7 separate regions of the Homo sapiens genome follow, and all the other regions are linked to region 1. The links are contacts of gene promoters, found by promoter capture Hi-C in blood cells and fetal thymus (Javierre and others, 2016). All regions are on one chromosome and are shown on one strand. Each heading gives the region's core, a stretch centred on a gene start or on the middle of the fragment in contact. The rest is flanking DNA. Distances are from core to core; before and after follow the strand shown. Region 1 holds the start of ENAM (enamelin). Region 2 has its middle 94 kb from the start of SLC4A4. Region 3 has its middle 52 kb from the start of DCK. Region 4 has its middle 2.8 kb from the start of DCK. Region 5 overlaps MOB1B (MOB kinase activator 1B). Region 6 overlaps MOB1B (MOB kinase activator 1B). Region 7 overlaps MOB1B (MOB kinase activator 1B).

Region 1 (2,700 bases), core at 85-2,584:
TTATTTTAGAGTGTTTAGTATAGGTTACAACAATATGTGGAAACTAATAAAGAGAATACTGGTGAAAGCTTTCTTTGCTAAATGTTTCTAAGATTATGGCCCAAGATTTAAGGGTGCTTTTGGATGGTTAATTTCTGCCTTGCTTAATCATTCATCTCATCTCTCTAGTAGCTGTCACAGTGATTCTTGATAATATATGTAGCCTTTATATTTGCAAATAGAAAACTCATTTTCTCTTTTGTAAAATTAATATATTATGTTGGATGACTGAGATCCCTTCCATCTCTAAAAGTTAGTGATTAAAGTCTATAATTAGTTATTTTTTGAGTTGAAAGTAACACTCATAATGATTGCCACAAAGTACAATGACTGTGTAAGTTCTTCTTCCATTCCATCTGTGAAAGCAGATGCTCTTTGAGTCTTCTGATACATTTCAGTAGTGTTTGGCCCTCTCAAGTGTATTTCTGACAGTATCTAGTTTGAGAACCTGTATGTATTGGCAAAAATAAATGAAAGTACTCACCAAGTTATCTAGTTTAGGAAAAGAGGTTCCAAGCCTGCACCGAAGCACCAACATTTTTTTCAGCAAAATTTTTATAAGCCTTTAAGAAAAATACAGCTTTAACCTGAGAAGAAACTAAAATATAGAAATGGAACAAATAAATGAAATGAATAGCAAAGCTTCAGTTCTAAGGCAGCACATGTCATGTTAATTATTTTATCCAGTCATACCTGTATTAGGGGGCCACAAAATCAAGTTTAATCTTCTGTTGCTTTAAAAGTAGGATGAAAGCTAAATCAGAGAGGAAATGACACAGGCACTGTATTTTGAGATACTTCTAGGGCGATGTTGACAAAACTAGACTTCACTATGGGGAAATGTACAAAGTCACAGTAGTAAAGGAGGTCTAAGAAGGCTGGAAAAAACTTACAAGAAAAACAAATACACCAAATAAACCAAGGAGTTTAAAGTTTTATCAGAAGATTAGTCTGCATACAATGATTATACAACCAACAAGAAGGAATGCAATAAGGAGAATTAACCAACATCTATGAATTAAATTCATTATTTGACACTATATGTAATTTATGTTGATAATCTCTAATACTCACCCAATGCCAATTAGAAGCTGTAATATATAAAAAATAATTTTTACTTGAACTTTGTTAGCTTGCCTTTGAAATATATTCTTAATGGTCTATAGTGGAAATAACTACAAATTGCTGAAGCCAGGGAGATCTCAAGAAGCAAGATACATTTATTTCTTAATAATAAAACAAAAATTCTTCACTCAGATATCATGTTCAGTATCAAAAAGGCTCAAAATAAAAAGATTCCTCCTTGTCAGAAAGCTTGGCACAGCAAGGTTCCATTTAAGCACTGTTGTAGACCTGCATAACCAATCAGCTTTGAGGAAAATGGTTTTGTCATCACAAGAGTTTAAGGTAAAAAACACACATCGAATTTAAAATTTAGAATGTGTTATTATAGGAGCTGTCAAGTCAAGTCTCTTATTACGTATAATAACAGTCCAGGAAAATGAGCTTACAGCAGTAAGATTTAGAAGATGCTTCCCTTGGTGAATTTGGCTTTCAAAGTATAGAAACTATGTTTATAACAAAGATATTTCAGGAACAAAGGCGAATATTAACTGTATGCTATTGTCATAAGTCAGTTGCCTTCATCAAAAGGCAGGCTAATATATATATTTACTTAATATACATTTTATATGTAATTAAAATGAACTGGAATGTTATATCCATGGGTGAAAACTCAGTGACTTGATTTACTTTGTATTACATAAGGCTAGCAGGACATAGTGTTCTTTTTGAAGTCAAATATAATCCAGTCACTGGGGATTCAGAATTTTAGATGAGTTGGGTACAATGGCAAATGAACTCTCAGCTATTATGATAATACAACTTAATGAAAATAGGACCTGAGTAATTTAATGAAACAGTTATGTTATGGATTTTTTTCCTGAAATCTGACTTTCCATAATAAAGATTTCACTTTCAAATAGATAGGCCAATTGCACTTTTAATTGACAAGAGCAAGCTTTGCTATCTTTGCTTAACTTGGATTCTCCTGTTCTCTTATGGCTTCACAAGAGAAAACATTTGTTGTGGCAATGTTTGCTTATTTTAATGTTGGGATTTAAAAACCAAGAATGAATGAACTTGATGGCAAAACCTGTTCCTACTTGGTATGATTGTGTATATAAGTTAATCCAGTGGTTGCCCATGGTGCTGTTCTTCCAAGGACAGAGAAGTGCTGTGTCATTCCTTTTGGGCCAAATAGCATTGTATTTCTCAGTGCCTCTCTGCTCCACATATTTCGTGCCACAAATAATAAAAATGTGCTAGAATATTTGACTTTAAATGAAGCTAGGACTATCTTTTAACTCTATGTGTATCCAAGATGTGCAAAGTTAAATCTGCTTCAAGTACCTGCTTGCCTTTGTCTGATTTTGTAGAAACTGAGTAGTATTTATCATATTGTGTGCACATTGAGATGAATTTGCAAATGGTAGGACACTTACGGGACAGTGACCTACAGTGTGTTCTTGGAAGTGAAATGGGAGTTCTGATGCTGGATGACCTGGCCTATCCTGTGCCCATTCATGTAGAGGGTAATTTTTGATTTTGGCCTTACCCATATAGGTTGTTGGGAGTTGCCACTAAACCTCACTTTTGATC
Region 2 (2,700 bases), core at 37-2,536, 460 kb before region 1:
GACTGCAGGAGAAGACAGAGAGACCTTTCTTGTCCTGGAAAAATGAGGACTCGTGAACCACACACATACTTTAACACAAAACATCCAGCTTCTGGTAATCCCCCAAAAGTGTGAAATGGTATATTTTTTAAAAAACAAGGAATAGAGAACTTTATTAGCCATACTGCATGTGGCTAATATTTCCTGTTAACATATTGGGATTTGTCAAAGAAAATCCTAGAGCTTCCCCTAACTACATATCCTTACATCTACCAGCTGAGACTCACAAAGCTAATAAACCTCACCAGCAAATTAGCATTACCTATAAAAGTACTGCAGCCTTAAATATTACAACATGGTAGAGCTGAATGTAAATCTCCTTGAAAGTATTTTTCCTGTATCACAATAAGCAGGAGGCCTATTTATAATGTAATGCCAAAAATAGACACACAGTGCTTAGTATTTGGAAAAGGATCTGTACATGCCACTCTACTCTGGAGAAGCTCTTAGAAGTACTTTTCCAATACATTTTCCCTGGAATCTCTCTCTCTCTGATCATCAATATGTGAGCCATAGGTGATTTGAACCAGGCAGGACAAGACACCCTGATGAAACAAAACTTGATATTGTCAAAAGATAAAACTCCCTTGAAGATGACCACTACATTTTATGACTGTATGCCACTCGTGGCTTACCATGCCATATCCTCATATTTTCTTCTAATCAGAAATTCATAAGGGAAATCTGTGTACCAAAATGTTTAATAAGGGACATATTTTAGATTTTTTTCCCACAGAGGACAGGGTTACCAGCCCCTAGCACTTTTTTTTTTAACAGTCTGGCTGATAATCTGGTGCCAACACCAACTGCTGGTTAAATAATCTCATCAGCCAGGGTGAGGCTTTTTGTTCTCCTGCTTTTGTGACTTCATTTTTCGAACATTTAAAGTTGCCAACAATCCCAAATGGTGTCTCATTACTTCTCTCCAGTTTGTTTCTATTTGAAGATAAAAACTATTTTATTTGGAGCAAATTATAATAGGATGCAAAATGACCCACCATTGTAAGACCAACAAATAGGTAGGTCCCTATAATGGTTTGAAAAGAAAAACTTTAATATCAAGACACAAAGGGGGAAAATGCATCTCCACGCTCATTTTTCACCTATTTTACCAACAACAACAATAGCAATCATTTATTGAGTACCCACCAGTATCACAAGAAGAACTCTGGGAGTTTAAATTGCTGAAGCTAAACTTAGGCAGTTTATCAATTCAAAACAAGTCAGGATATTCACTTACAGAACAAAAAGGTTTTTCTATCCCTAACTATTTATGATTTAAATCTTTTTTTCTTAAAGTAAAGACAGAAAGGAGGTAAAAATAGGCCAATGCAGTGGCTCACGCCTGTAATCCCCGCACTTTGAGAAGCCGAGACAGGCAGATCACTTGAGGTCAGGAGTTCAAGACCAGCCTGGCCAACATGGTGAAACCCTGTCTCTACTGAAAATACAAAAATTAGCTGGGAATGGTGGTGCATGCCTGTAGTCCCAGCTACTCGGGAGGCTGAGGCAGGAGAATTGCTTGAACCTGGGAGGTAGAGATTGCAGTGAGCCAAGATGACGCCAGTGCACTCCAGCCTGGTGATAGAGCAAGACTCTGTCTCAAGAAAAAGGAAAAAAAGAAAAGAAAAAACAAAAGAGGTCAAAATACAAGACTGGTTTTTGCCATATATGACTTTATTTTATTTTTATTTTTGAGACAAAGTCTCACTCTGTTACCCAGGCTGGAGTGCAGTGGCGTGATCTCGGTTCACTGCAACCTCCGCCTCCTGAGTTCAAGTGATTCTCCTGCCTCAGCCTCCCGAGTAGCTGGGACTACAGGCGCACGCCACCACGCCCAGCTAATTTTTGTATTTTTAGTAGAGATGGGGTTTCACCATGTTGGCCAGGGTGGTCGTGATCTCTTGACCTTGTGATCTGCCAGCCTCGGCCTCCCAAAGTGCTGGGATTACAGGCGTGAGCCACTGTACCCGGCCCATATATGACTTTCTTACTTACAATAGGTCAAGCATCAGTGCTCAGGTTTATAGCCAGAAGAAGTTACAACACAATTATGGGTATCTGTAAAAAGAAAAATAACAATTACTTGATGTATCTCAAATAATACAAAAACTCTTAGTGATAGTATGATACCTCAAATTACCTAAACCCATGTAAGAATCTCTTCTTCTTGCCCTCCTTTCAGGTTCTATTCTCAGCATTCTGTTTTTAGGTTTTTGCAGTGTTTTTTCTGATGTAACATGACGTGCAAATTCCCAGTAACCCCCAAAATACTTAAAATCAAATATTTCTTCCTAGAAAATGTATAGGAAACTGTCTCGACAAATATCTCCTTATGAACTTCTATAAATTTATCTACTAATTCTTACTAGGGTTTGGAATATGTAAATATCAATATTCATTTTTAAAATATCTGTCAACATGAAAAAGTTTGTATAAGAAAATGTAGGAAAAATAGAATCCTAGTGAAATATAAAAAGAGAGAAATCTATTGAAATCCATCAACCATATGAATTTTACTTCTCTAAGTTAAGAGAAGCTTCTACTTAAAATGAGCTTTAGAATAGAAATTGCAGTCCAGTGATCCTTACTGAACAGTTTGCCAGTTCCTGTTTACATGTTTACATTATCTTGCATCCCTTAATAAAAGTCATCTTTATA
Region 3 (2,700 bases), core at 177-2,676, 420 kb before region 1:
TGAATTTGAATGTTGGCTTGTCTTGCTAGGTTGGGGAAGTTCTCCTATATGATATCCTGAAGTATGTTTTACAACTTGGTTCCATTCTCCCCATCTCTTTCAAGTACCCCGGTTAGTTGTAGGCTTGGTATCTTTACATAATGCTATATTTCTTGGGGGTTTTGTTCATTCCTTTTCATTCTTTTTTCTCTATTCTTCTCTGTCTTATTTCAGAAAGAGTCTTCAAGCTCTAAGATTCTTTCCTCCACTTGGTCTATTCTGCTATTGATACTTGTGATTGCATTGTGAAGGTCTTGTGTTGTGTTTTTCGACTCCATTGGGTTGGCTATGTTCCTCTCTAAACTGGCTATTCTGGCTATCAACTCCTGTATTGTTTTATCATGATTCCTAGCTTCTTTGCTTTGGGTTACAGCATGCTCCTTTAGCCCAGTGAAATTCATGATTACACACCTCTGAAGCCTACTTCTGTCAATTCAACCATCTCAGTCTCAGCCTAGTTCTGTGCCCTTGCTGGAGAGGTGTTGTGGTCATTTGGAGAAGAAAAGGCACTCTGGCCTTTTGAGTTTTCAGCATGTTTGCATTGATTCTTTCTCATCTTTGTGGGCTTATCTACCTTCAATCTTTGAGGTTTCTGACATGGTGAATGAGGTTTTTGTGGGGTCTTTGTCATTGTTGTTGTTTTGTGTCTGTTTGTTTGTTTTAACAGTCAGCCCACTCTACCATAGGGCTGCTGTGGTTTGCTGGGGGTCCGCTCCATACCCCAGTTGCCTCATTCTCCCGTACCTGGAGGTATCACCAGCAAAGGCCATGAAACAGCAAAGATGACAGCCAGATCCTTTCTCTGGAAGCTCTATCCCAGGGGGTACTGACCTGTTGCCAGCCTGCACGCACCTATAGGAGATGTCTGGAAACCCCCATTGGGAGGTCTCACCCAGTCAGAAGGAATGGGATCAGGGACCTGCCCAAAGAAGCAGTCTGGCTGTTTTTTGGTAGAGCAGTTGTGCTGCATTAAGGGGCACACTTCCTCATCCAAACTGCCTGCAATCTCCAAAGCTGACAGGCTGGAGTGGCTGAGTCCACCAAACCGCAGAGATGACATCCACCCCTCCTCACAGGAGCTCCATCCCAGGGAGAGATCAGAGCTCTGTCCATAGAACCCTAGCTGGAGTCGTTGAAGCTCCTGCAGGGAGATCCTGCTCAGTGAGGAGAAATGGATCCAGGTGCTGCTTAAAGCAGTCTGGCCACAATCTGGCAAGGCAGCTGTGCTGCACTATGGGGGACCCTTCCTCCCAGACTGTCTGTATTCTCCACAGTCAGCAGGCTAGAGAAGCTAAGTTGATGGAACCGCAGAGATGGCAGCCACCCATTCCCCTGGGAACTTGGACCCATCTCAGGTGGATTTCAACCCGCTGCCATTGGCTGGCTGGGATTCCAAGCCAGTGAGTCTTAATTTGTGAGGTGCTGTGGAAGTGGGGCCCATAGAACGACATTGCTTGGCTCCCTGGATTCAGTCTCCCCTTCCCAGGGATATGTACGGATGAATTTCCTGCCTTGCTGGAGATCCCAGGGCCGGAATATGTAAAACTCCTGGGTCTCTATATGTAAGCAGGTGCTCTGCCAAGACTTCACACAGCTCTGTGTATCAGACCCAAGGCCCTGGTGGCGTGGGCTCATGAGGGGATCTCCTTATCCACAGTGATATTATTTGCTTCTGTGTCCCTGCCCAAATCTCATCTTGAATTATAATCCCCCCATATCGAGGAAGGGACCTGTAATCCCCACATGTTGAAGGAAAGTGGTTGGATCATGAGGGTGGTAGAATCACAAGATCGTGCTGTTCTTGTGACAGTGAGTGAATTCTCATGAACTCTAATGGTTTTGAAAGTGGTAGTTTTTACCTGTGCTCTCACTTCTCCCTCCTGTCACCTGTGGAAAAGGTGCCTGTTTCCCTTTCCACCATGGTGGTAAGCTGTCTGAGGGCTCCCTAGCCAGGAGGAACTGTGAGTCAATTAAATCTCCTTCCTTTATAAATTCCCCAGTCTCGGGGGTATTTCTTTCTTCTTTTTTTTTTTCTTTTTGAGACAGAGTCTCACTCTGTTGCCAGGCTGGAGTAGTGGCCTCATCTTGGCTTACTGCAACCTCCCCTTCCCGGGTTCAAGCGATTCTCCTGCCTCAGCCTCCCAAGTAGCTGGGACTACAGGCGTGTGGCACCACACCCAGCTAATTTTTGTATTTTTAGTAGAGACGGGGTTTCACCATGTTAGCTAGGATGGTCTCGATCTCTTGACCTCGTGATCTGCCCGCCTTGGCCTCCCAAAGTGCTGGGATTACAGGTGTGAGCCGCCAACGGACTAATGCATGCAGGCTGCAAAGATTCGTGGGAGAAGTGTGGTTTCCTAAGAGTAGTCGCACAATAACTCACTGCTTCCCTTGGCTGGGGGTGGGGATTCCTTTGGCTTTGTGCCACTCCCAGGTGGGCCATCACCTTCCCCACCCCCCACTTTTCTTCCTTCTCTGTATTGGGTTGTCTAGCAGTCCCAATGCAAGAACCTGAATATTTCAGTTGAAGGTGCTGAATTCACTCACCCTTCTTCATTCCTCTCCATGAGTGCTGCAGACCACAGCTGCTTCTAATTGGCCATCTTAGATCAATCCCCATCATGTAGTAATTCTATTTTTAGTATTCTGAGGAAACCCCAT
Region 4 (2,700 bases), core at 144-2,643, 360 kb before region 1:
AGACTTCCCATCCAGTAACACTAATAAACCGGATATTACCCAGTCTGGAAGTTATCTGGTCCAAATTGTCTACAGAAACCAAAGGCCTTGCTATTCTTTTTTACATTGCAACTATCATCAGACCTGAAATGCATCTAAATGTGTAGCCAGAAGGGGAAAACGGTGACTCCATCCTCAGAAATAAAGAGCAGAAATTAAAATGTGAATCCTCGGGGATCACATTTTCCAGGATTAAACAGCAAGAATCATTCTATGTAACTGCCCTATATTATTCTGTTATGCAATTATTTTGTATATATTACTTTTACTTATCCCTATAGTGATTAATAGCAAGATCCTAGGAATATAAGAGGCCTGAAGAGTTGTCATCAGGTATAGCAAGGAAGTTGGGAGAAAGGTGCTGCGGAAGCTAATAGGTATCACATTTCACAGCCAAGCTTGGGGGAAAACTCATGAAATGGTAAGAGTACTGGCAGCTACCGAGAGGAGGAAGGCAAGTCTCTTGAGACCTTCAACAGGAAAGCAGAGCTGGTCCTGGATGGATGTCATAAAGAGGCTTGGGGTTAAGGAGTAGAAATCTCCAAGTGTGGTTTCCACAAAAAAGACCCACACAAGAAGTATCTTACAATGATGAAGAGTTTAAGCACTGGAAAATGAAAGATTTCAAACACCAGTTCTACCAGTTTCTGGCTGCAAAAACTTGAATTCATCTGAGCTTAAGAGTATACTTTGAAAAATACAAATGTGGGAGGCCGAGGCAGGTGAATCGCTTGAGCCCAGGAGTTTGAGACTAGCCTGGGCAACATGGCAAAACTCTTGTCTCTACAAAAAATAGAAAAATTAGCCAGGCGCCTGTAGTCCCAACTATTTGGGAGGCTGAGGTGGGAGAATTACCGAAGCCAGGGAGTCAAGGCTGCAGTGAGCCAAGATCATGCCACTGTACTCCAGTGAGATCCTGTCTCAACTAACAACAACAAAGTAAATGGGGGAAGCAAAGAATCTAGCTTTTTTGGCATTAAGTCCAGCATAATTTCCCATTTTCCTACATGACCTGGGGGTAACACAAGGAGAGAACAGAGAAAAGCACTTTTCAAAACATCTTGATTTTTGGTCCACAATCTCTTATCTAAAACCCTGGCAGCCAGATGTTTCAGAATTTAAAACTTTTAGAAAAGATTTTTAGAAAAGAAATTCTAAACTTTGGAACTGGCTGGACGCAGTGGCTCTTGCCTATAATCCCAGCACTTTGGGAGGTACTCTGGAATGCTTGAGCTCAGGAATTCGAGACCAACCAGGGAAACATGGCGAAACTAATAGAAAAAATACAAAAATTAGCTGGTTGTGGTGGCACACACCTGTGGTCCCAGCTACTCAGGAGGCTGAGGTGGGAGGATGGTTTGGGCCTGCAAAGTTTTAGCTTTAGTAAGCTATGATCGCGCCACTGCATGCCAGCCTGAGTGACACAGCAGCAAGACCCCGTCTCAATAATAAAATTTGGAATCGAAACTTTAGAAACGATACAGTGCATATACTGTATATTAATTATTAAGTAAGCACCCCCACTCCCCCTGCAGAGGTGTTAAATCAAATGCACTAATATTTTGCAGTGAAACAAAGAGTGTTAACATGAAGTGGGATAAAGACTATTAACATCTGGTCAGAATAAGTTTGCACTGAATTCAAAAAAAATACCTTTGGGGCCAAGCACGGTGGCTCACGCCTGTAATCCCAACACTGTGGGAGGCCGAGATGGACAGATTACCTGAGTTCAGGAGTTCGAGACCAACCTGGCCAACATGGCGAAACCCTGTCTCTACTAAAGATACAAAAACTAGCCGGGCGTGGTGGTGTGTGCCTGTGGTCCCAGCTACTCGGGAGGCTGAAGCTGGAGAATCGCTTGCACCCGGGAGGCGGAAGTTGCATTAAGCCAAGATCATGCCACTGCACTCCAGCCTGGATGAGAGTGAGACCCCGTCTCAAAAAAACAAACAAAAAAATTTTGGTTTTCTGAGCTTTTCAGGTTTTGAAACTGCAGATAAGAGACAGGATACAGCGCACCCAGCCAGTCATGATCGTGCTGCCACCTAATCCTTTCTTACCAGAAATTTTACTACTCCTTCAATTTGGGAATTTTCTCCTGTGGGAATTCTAGTGTAACTAAAGAATGAGACAGCGTTCTGACTGACAACATACAGGTTTATTAGGAAAACTAAATCAACCCAGAAAATAATAAAAAGCAGAAAAAATAAGAGACCCTGAACATTAAGTAGTGGTTACACAGCCCATGAGTTTGTCTACACAAACTCAACTACTTCTGTAAAATGATATTTATCAACTTAATAAGCTTGGTTATAAATTTCCCCTTGTAATCTTCATTAGTGCCTAGAAAACGGGGTACAGAAGCCATCATAAATGCAAGAGTGGGAGTCAGTGTGCTTCCTGCAAATCTGAAATCTGAAAGCAAAATAACATACTAGAAGAGCATAGGAGCCATCAGATGTATACAGCTTAGCAAAGAAAGCTGTTTTACTACATGCTTGTGAAGTGGACTGAGGTCATCAAGAAAATGTGACACTGTATTCATCATGCTGTAACAGGAGCATGTACAATTTCTTAGTAAAACTTCTACTAAACATGGTTGTTTAAACCTTAGAGGAATAATTAATTAGAATCTTTGTGTTGCAAAATGCTCATTGCAGA
Region 5 (2,700 bases), core at 125-2,624, 300 kb before region 1:
TACAGGGGACAGAAATTATTTGGAAGTACCTTTACTATTATCTTGTTTATTTGGCATTAATTTTAAAAGTCCAAGAAGCTTTCATGACTCTTTTTCTTAATGATGCAATGATAGTGGGAATGCAGGGAAATGAGCACTCTCATTCCCTGGTAGAGGGAACACAATTTACAGGGCACATTGGAAAATAGGAAACTTGTGCCTGGTATATGACAATCCTGTAAAGAAGGTCTCTACAAAACTATGTGATAAAGATACAATAAATAAGGCTGAGTGCAGGGGCTCACGCCAGTAATATCGGCATTTTGGGAGGCCAAGGTGGGAGGATCACTTGAACCTAGGAGTTCAAGACAAGCCTAGGTAACATAGCAAGACCCCGTGTCTATTAAAAAAAAGTTTTTTTATTATAAAAATCCAATAAATAGGTATTCTAAACTCTTCTGTGCACAGTAGCCACCTTTTAATATTTTCCCTAAAATCTTTACAATGGAAAAACATACAACAGACTGAGGAGAATCACTCATACTCTCACCACCCGTGATGAAATTCTTGAAAATGTCAGGCCACGTGTGGTGGCTCATACCTGTAATTCCAGCACTTTGGGAGGCTGAGGCGGTGGATCACGAGGTCAAGAGTTCGAGACCAGCCTGAACAACATGGTGAAACTCCATCTCTACTAAAAATACAAAAAATTAGCCGGGCATGGTGGCACGCGCCTGTAATCCCAGCTACTCAAGAGGCTGAAGCAGGAGAATCGCTTGAACCCGGGAGGCAGAGGGTGCAGTGGGCCGAGATCACACTACTGCATTCCAGCCTAGGTGACACAGCAAGACTCCATCTCAAAAAAAAAAAAAACAAAATTCTTGAAAATGTCATTGATTAGTCAGGAAAAAAAATTGTTACTAAGAGGCACTATGCTAGGTGGTAGAGATTTAAAACAAACATTTTTTGAAAATGCCCCATCTTCAAAGAGATCATACACATGACAGTGGGTGGAGTACAATGTCTTTTTGGAAAGGACTATGATAAGGACTATAAAGGGCACTGAAATGGTATCTAACAAACTGGGAAGGGGGCACAGGCCAGGGAAAAAGTTGGCTCCTGAGCTAAAGAAATGGGGGTGGGGAGGAGAAGAATAACAGCCAGAATAACAGGAACGGCATTTACAAAGGCAGAAAGATGGAGCAAAGCAGGTTGAGAGAAATGCAAATAAAATCACTGAACACTGTGGGGGAGGGATGTTAGAGCAGGAAGGCACGGATGAGGCTGGAGTGGTAAGCAAACATCTCAGGGAGGCCTTCTATGCCTTGGAGTTTTGCAGACCACTTCCAGCCCATTCCAATATCTACCTGAAATGCCCAAGTGAACTACAGGAAGCGAGTGCACCGAAGGATTCCTACCACTTCCCCTCCATGTTAAAAACCAAGATGCTAAAGTGGAACAGCAGTGGCAGCAATGCCAAGAACAAGCAGGGGAGGCCCCCGCATCCACACAATAAAAACAGCATCTGACTAAAAACCGGAAGCTCAATTCGGCAAAATTCTTGCTGTTTTGAATAGGTGAATGCACTACACATATTTATAACTGTGGTATTGACGGCAATTTTTTTTTTTTTGAGACAGATTCTCACTCTGTTGCCCAGGCTGGGGTACAGTGGCATGATCTCAGCTCACTGCAACCTCCGCCTCCCAGGTTCAAGCGATTCTCCTGCCTCAGCCTCCCAAGTAGCTGGGATTACAGGCGAGTGCCACCATGCCTGGCTAATTATTGTATTTTTAGTAGAGACGGGGGTTTCATCATGTTGGCCAGGCTGGTCTCGAACTCCTGATCTCAGATGATCTGCCCACCTTAGCCTCCCAAAGTGCTGGGATTACAGGCATGAGCCACTGCGCCTGGCTGACAGCAATTTTTTTCTTTATATTCCTAATTTTTGATGAACACAGACTGCAATTATTTCACACATACACCCAAGAAAGTTTGTATACTCAATGCAATATCTTGCAGTGCAAGGGTCTTTAACCATCATTAGCCAGTGGACTTGGAACTGAGAGTTTAAAACAACCATTAAGGAGCACATCTATGTAACACGCTGGTCTCCAGTGCTAAGATTCTTGAGGACAGAGACCGCATCTTATTTCTTTTTTTTTTTTTCTTTTTTGAGACGGAGTCTTGCTCTGTTGCCCAGGCCGGAGTGCAGTGTCACAATCTCGGCTCACTGTAAGCTCCACCTCCTGAGTTTGCGCCATTCTCCTGCCTCAGCCTCCCAAGTAGATGGGACTACAGGCGCCCACCACCACGCCCGGCTAATTTTTTTGTATTTTTAGTAGAGACGGGGTTTCACCGTGTTAGCCAGGATGGTCTCGATCTCCTGACCTCATGATCCACCTCCCAAAATGCTGGGATTACAGGCGTGAGCCACTGCGCCCGGCACATCTTGTTTATTTCTAAACCCCTTCCTTTCTCCTCCCACCACCAGCAAGCACCTAACACTTCGCTTTTACACACAGGAGGTGTTCAATAAATGTTCATTTTATTATGCAATAATGCCATACATTTGTAAGACAGCTAAACAAAAAACTGGAATGCACAAACAGTTTATACACTGGGCTTGGGAATTTCATGAGTGGAGATAATGACAGTGTTTATACAGGACTCTGGTTTATGAAAAGCTTTCATATACATTCTGTCATTCAAGTCTCACAT
Region 6 (2,700 bases), core at 124-2,623, 340 kb before region 1:
TGCACCTGTAATCCCAGCTACTCAAGAGGTTGAGGCAGGGAAGATCTCTTGAACCTAGGATGCAGAGGTTGCAGTAAGCCAAGATCGCACCACTGCACTCTAGCCTGGGCAACAGAGCAAGATTCTGTCTCAAAAAAATAAAATAAAAATAAAAAAACAGTATCTGAGAACAAAGTTCTACGAGCCATCATTCAATACCACTTTGCAAGGGGCTTAGCATTTATTAAGTATTAACAAATGCCTCTCCTAGGCACAATCCTGCATCTGCTGGTAAAAATGAAGAACTATGACAACAACTACATCTTCTTAGCACTAATGACTGGGAAATGTCACGATTCTCCCCAAAAAAAAAAAGGGAGAAAGGAAGAGAGGGAGGAAAGACAAGAAGAGAAGGAAGAAGAAAAGAGACGTAGAGAAAGAAGAAAGAAGGAGGGAGAAAGGAAGGGAAAGAAGGAAGAAAGAAGAGAAAGAGAGGGAAGCAGACACGCAGGCAGGAGACCACACAGCTTTAACACTATGTACGCACACATGCATGCATACAGGAGCAGAGACAAACAGCTCTCAAGCCAGAAGAACTGGCTTTCTTAGAAGGCAGTGCTATTTAATTTCTCAAGGCATAACTAACCACAGAATAGAAAAATTAAAGACATCTATTTTCACAAGTGAAGCTTAACCAAAGTGAACACCAGTAATACTGGCAAGAATTAATACTAAAGGGGGACTGATTTCATTTCTAAATGCCCCCGTTCCTCTAATAAATCTTCCCGAAATAACAAGTAACAGAAATTCACACTCTAGCTTTGATGATAAAACTAGGAGACACCTATGTCTTTAAATTACTTTTTTTTTTTTTTTTTTGAGACAGAGTCTCACTCTATCATTCAGGCTGGAGTACACACACTGGCACGATCTCAGCTCACTGCAACCTCACCCCCACCTCCCAGGTTTAAGTGATTCTCCTGCCTGAGTGGCTGGGATTACAGATGCACACCACCACGCCCAGCTAATTTTTCTATTATTAATAGAGACGAGATTCACTATGTTGCCCAGGCTGCTCTCAACCTCCCGATCTCAGGTGATGATCTGCCAGTCTCAGCCTCCCAAAGTGCTGGGATTATAGGCGTGAGCCACCATGCCCAGCCTAAACCACATTATTTTTTAAAGGGACTATCTTGACTAGACTTTTCAAAAAGGCGAGGTGGGGAGTGTGACAGTTCATATAAGTTCAAACAGGGTGAGGAGAGAACAAAAGATGCACCTGCAACTACAAACCCCATACAAAGTCCACAGAAGACGTTTCTCCAAAGTAAACAGTCCCGTGACGGGTAAAAACCACAAACATACTTCTGCAGGAAGAGGTGTAAATGGAGGAAGGGAATTGACAGACGCTAGATTTTGAATAGCTCTGCAGCTATACTCATCTCCATGGGCTAGAAAGAAGTGAAGGTTCAAACACAGCTTTGTGTCTTTCCTAGTGCAGTCTTCCTTTCTCTTTACTGAGAACTGCCAACTTCTTTTACCTCTTCATATGGTATCTCCATATTTTTCCTGAGCTACAATATTATACTTCTGTTACGGGCTCTTTGATCATTTGACTAAATTCTTTGAGTCTACGGCAATGCATAGAGCAATATTCTTATAATGAATGTTGACATATGATGTAAAAAACATGTATGAAAGGCCTTACATTTAGGTACCACTAAATAAATGGTAACTGTCATTGCTATTATTAGTAGAAGTAATAATAAAAGCCAGTTTCCAAAATGTACTGATTCAACCCACATTTTTTGGGTGTTAAAACAAGGTGGCAAGCTCTGTCCTTGCACCAAAAGGGAATTAAAAGAACAAATCCAACAGGTTAAATAAAACATATATGAATAGTGTAAGAAATATAACAAACAAATTTCATTACAAAGGTAAAAAAAGTTAGTCTGATGAAATCAGAAGGCTTTGACAGAGAAATATTTGATAATAGAATTGAAGATCAGTAAGATTTTTTGAAATATTGACAGAAAATGACAGGAGTGAAATGGGAGAGAAGAAAAATGTCCAAGAGAAGAAGAGAATAAGCAAGCTTCCAGAGAAGTACGTAATGGAGGGAACAGCAAGGTATTTCCAGTAATCCAGTTAGGACAGACTAGAGAAGACACATAAGCAAACAGAGGAAAGGCAAGATGGACAGTCACAAACCCCAAGCTAAGGAATCTAGATTAATAGTCACTGGCAAACCTCAGAAAGAGACGATAAGTAGAAAAATCATATGGTCAGAAACTTCGTTTTTCTTTAAGAACCGTAAAATAATGTAAAAATAAGAAACTGATCATTAACTATGTCTTACTTTGGGCCAGCTGACATCACTGGACAACTCTCTTCTGTACAGAAGTCTGTGATAGTTCCATAAAGCATGTTGATCTGATTGAAGAAATCCACAGCTGTAAAGCAAGTATCAGTTGTAAGTAAAACAGAATGGCTAAATTTAAAATGAAATTTTAATTGTACTTGAACAGAATAGGCTTATTGGCGTTCGTTCCCCTACAAAGAACAGGTGAAAACCATACACAGAAGTATCAATACATTGAAATGAGGAGCTTGTGTTCATCAAACGACTCCCTTGAGAGCAAAAAGGCAAGCATAGAGATGAAGAGATTATTTGCAACGCATACAAACAACAGAAATCTTATATCTAGAATAGATAAAGAA
Region 7 (2,700 bases), core at 30-2,529, 320 kb before region 1:
TACAGGCGTGAGCCACAGCACTCGGCCTAAAGCCCATACTTTTACCCACTACCCAACATTACTCAATGCTTTACCTTTAGCTTCTACCCAATTATTTCTAATAATTTTCTCCCTTTTTCACCACATTTTAATCAAGTCATTCACGAACAACACAAGGCTAATTTATACCAAGAGAGTTATTAATAGGCACCTTTTTTTTCTTATTTTTAAAACATTCTTTTTTCCTTACCCTTGTCTCCACCCCTTTGTAATTTTATTTATGTATTTTTTTGAAGACAGGGTTCACTCTGTCCCCTAGGCTGGAGTGCAGTGACACAAACACAGCTCACTGCAGCCTCAACTTCCTGAGCTCAAACGATCTTTCTACCTTAGCCTTCCACCTCGGCCTCCCAAGTAGTTGGGACCACAGGTTCACGCCACCATGTCCAGCTAATTATTTTGTTGTTGTATTTTTTTATAGAGAGGAAGTCTCACTTTGTTGCCCTGGCTAGTCTCAAACTCCTGGGCTCAAGTGATCCCCCCATCCCCACCACCCAAAGTGCTGGGAATAGATACATCTTAATCTTCAAACCACCTAATTCCCCTCCTATACCATCTCTAATTTATATGAATACTTAGCACATACTCTGCCAGTAAGAAAAAGTAAAATTCCACCCTACACCAATTTCCCCCAAATGTTGCCATTTGGCTTTCATCCACGCTTTCAGAAAGGCAGACATGCATCTGCAAAAAATGTTAGAAGCTGTCAAAATAGAATGTGTTCTAGAAATAATAAGACTAAAAGCTAAAGGCTAAAAGCTATGAGTATTGAAAAGATAACCTTGTTTCAAGACAGACAGCAGTCTGAACAGACATATCTACTTACATTTCTGCCTATAATCCCTTTTAAATCACTATTATTAGTGGCAGGTGGTATTGCTACTATTGTTACCATTAAGTGAGTAAGAAATCCTTAACTCGGCTGGAAAAAAAGAAAGAACACTATCTGCTATCCGCAGTTCAGAAATCGAGGAATTCTTATAAGATTAAAAAGTTAATGAGACATAGTGACTGAGAAGTCTGAGAAAACCTAGCATAGATATGCCCAGTAGAGGTCTCTATGAAGGTAAGAGTGATTCTGCTGTGCTCCAAACTCAGAATCTAGACTACGGGAGAGGACCCTGAGGGGATCTCCAGAAGATTATAGGCGAACTTGACCCAGGATCTTTGCACAAGTGAATCCCAATACCCTTCTGAGTGGCCTTTTTCTGAGAAGTAGGCAAGCACAGCCTAAGCTGAAGCTCAGAGCATGGTGGAGGGAGGGATTTTAACCACCACCCCAGCAGGCAGGGGAACTTGGCAGTCAAAAGAGAACTTACTGGCATACCTCTATACATTAGGCAGCAGTTCCTACTCCTTCCTGTCACCAGAGGTATGCTCCCATAATCAGTATATTCACCAAGAAGCAAACCAATATCCTCAAACACTCAAGTTGAGCAGACAATCCCAAATCACTAAATATTCCAGGAAAACCAACACCATGAAAGAACTACTCAACAATATATCTAATGCTAACAAAAACCAAGAAGAACATACTAAATATAATCAGTATCTTTAGAAATAACAGAGACACTATTATATTCAAAAAACAGGCAATTATGAAAAGAAACAATTAGGGAAGGATGGAGAAGCTGAAGTTCTCCTTAAGCAAGTGGTGTCAAGTCGAGAGATATTAACCACAGTGAGGGGAACTGAAAAATTAAAGAATTCTGGTAAGATTAAAAAGTTGACTTTTTAATATAATTGACTGTGGAGATGGTTACTAAAAAACTGTATTAAACAGTGCACTCTAAACGGGCGATTTGTAAGGTATGTGACTACGTCTCAATTAAGCATTTTTTAAGGCACAAAGAAAAATATAATTGTCATTATAAAAGTGAACAGTGGACCATACAAATAGAGTCAACTGATACTGACAAAAGAGGAAAGGCAATTCAATGGGGAAAGGATGATCTTTTCAACAAGTGGTAGTTCTCTACTACTTGGGACACTGGGACATCCAGAGGCAAAAACATAAATCTAGACACAGATCTTGCACCTTTCACAAAACTTAACATGAATTAGATGATAGACCTAAAACTACAACACAATACTATAAAACTTCTAGAAGAAAACATAGAAGAAAATCTATGTGACCTTGAATTTGGTGATGAGTTTCTAGATATAAAAAAGCATCTTATGAAAGAAAATACTGATAAATTAGACTTCATTAAAGTTTAAAATTCTTCTCTGTGGCTGGGTACAGTGGTGCACGGCAGTAATCCCAGCATTCTGGGAGGCCAAGGTAGGCAGATCACTTCATCTCAGAAGTTCAAGACCAGCCTGGGCAATATGTTGAAACCCTATCTCTACAAAAAATTATCTGGGTGTGGTGGCACACACCTGCTGCCCCAGCTACTCAGGAGGCTGAGGCAGGAGCCTAGGGGTGTTGAGGCTGCAGTGAGCCAAGATTGTGCCACTGCACTCCAGCCTGGGCAACAGAGTGAGACCCTGCTTCAAAATAAATAAATAAATAAAATTCTGCTCTATGAAAGACACTGTAAAGAAGGTCAAATATCAAGCCACCGACTAGCAGCAAATCTTTGCCGATCACATACATAGTTAAGGACTTATATCCAAAATATACAAAGAGCTGTTAAAATTCAACAATAAGAGCCTGAG

The links. The method cuts DNA at HindIII sites, captures the fragments that hold promoters and counts their contacts. A CHiCAGO score of 5 or more calls a contact.
Region 2: a fragment that was not itself captured here is called in contact with the fragment with the promoter of ENAM in region 1 in 2 of 17 cell types (M0 macrophages and total B cells); the score reaches 5.4 in M0 macrophages.
Region 3: a fragment that was not itself captured here is called in contact with the fragment with the promoter of ENAM in region 1 in 1 of 17 cell types (naive B cells); the score reaches 6.2 in naive B cells.
Region 4: a contact is called between a fragment that was not itself captured here and the fragment with the promoter of ENAM in region 1, in 1 of 17 cell types (fetal thymus). The highest score is 5.9, in fetal thymus.
Region 5: a contact is called between a fragment that was not itself captured here and the fragment with the promoter of ENAM in region 1, in 1 of 17 cell types (monocytes). The highest score is 5.2, in monocytes.
Region 6: a fragment that was not itself captured here is called in contact with the fragment with the promoter of ENAM in region 1 in 3 of 17 cell types (total CD8 T cells, fetal thymus and total CD4 T cells); the score reaches 5.4 in total CD8 T cells.
Region 7: a contact is called between a fragment that was not itself captured here and the fragment with the promoter of ENAM in region 1, in 1 of 17 cell types (fetal thymus). The highest score is 6.4, in fetal thymus.

What each region holds. Positions count from the first base shown.
Region 1 is chr4:70,627,378-70,630,077 of GRCh38, reverse strand. It overlaps ENAM (enamelin), which reads right to left and starts at 1,334. Exons shown (of 9, transcript NM_031889.3): 1 at 1,114-1,334; 2 at 524-637. The coding sequence starts at 577. The HindIII fragment of the contact is 672 bases long and covers 684-1,355 here.
Region 2 is chr4:71,092,130-71,094,829 of GRCh38, reverse strand. It overlaps a transcript of SLC4A4 not described here. Among named protein-coding and RNA genes, the nearest start is that of SLC4A4, 94 kb to the left of the region's middle. The HindIII fragment of the contact is 2,588 bases long and covers 1-2,580 here.
Region 3 is chr4:71,044,022-71,046,721 of GRCh38, reverse strand. No RefSeq gene overlaps it. Among named protein-coding and RNA genes, the nearest start is that of DCK, 52 kb to the right of the region's middle. The HindIII fragment of the contact is 3,381 bases long and covers 1-2,700 here.
Region 4 is chr4:70,989,549-70,992,248 of GRCh38, reverse strand. No RefSeq gene overlaps it. Among named protein-coding and RNA genes, the nearest start is that of DCK, 2.8 kb to the left of the region's middle. The HindIII fragment of the contact is 1,907 bases long and covers 440-2,346 here.
Region 5 is chr4:70,926,452-70,929,151 of GRCh38, reverse strand. The region is part of intron 1 of MOB1B (MOB kinase activator 1B); the gene reads right to left. Among named protein-coding and RNA genes, the nearest start is that of MOB1B, 25 kb to the right of the region's middle. The HindIII fragment of the contact is 2,588 bases long and covers 81-2,668 here.
Region 6 is chr4:70,969,663-70,972,362 of GRCh38, reverse strand. It overlaps MOB1B (MOB kinase activator 1B), which reads right to left. Exons shown (of 6, transcript NM_173468.4): 3 at 2,339-2,432. Among named protein-coding and RNA genes, the nearest start is that of DCK, 23 kb to the left of the region's middle. The HindIII fragment of the contact is 1,406 bases long and covers 671-2,076 here.
Region 7 is chr4:70,947,481-70,950,180 of GRCh38, reverse strand. The region is part of intron 1 of MOB1B (MOB kinase activator 1B); the gene reads right to left. Among named protein-coding and RNA genes, the nearest start is that of DCK, 45 kb to the left of the region's middle. The HindIII fragment of the contact is 3,491 bases long and covers 1-2,700 here.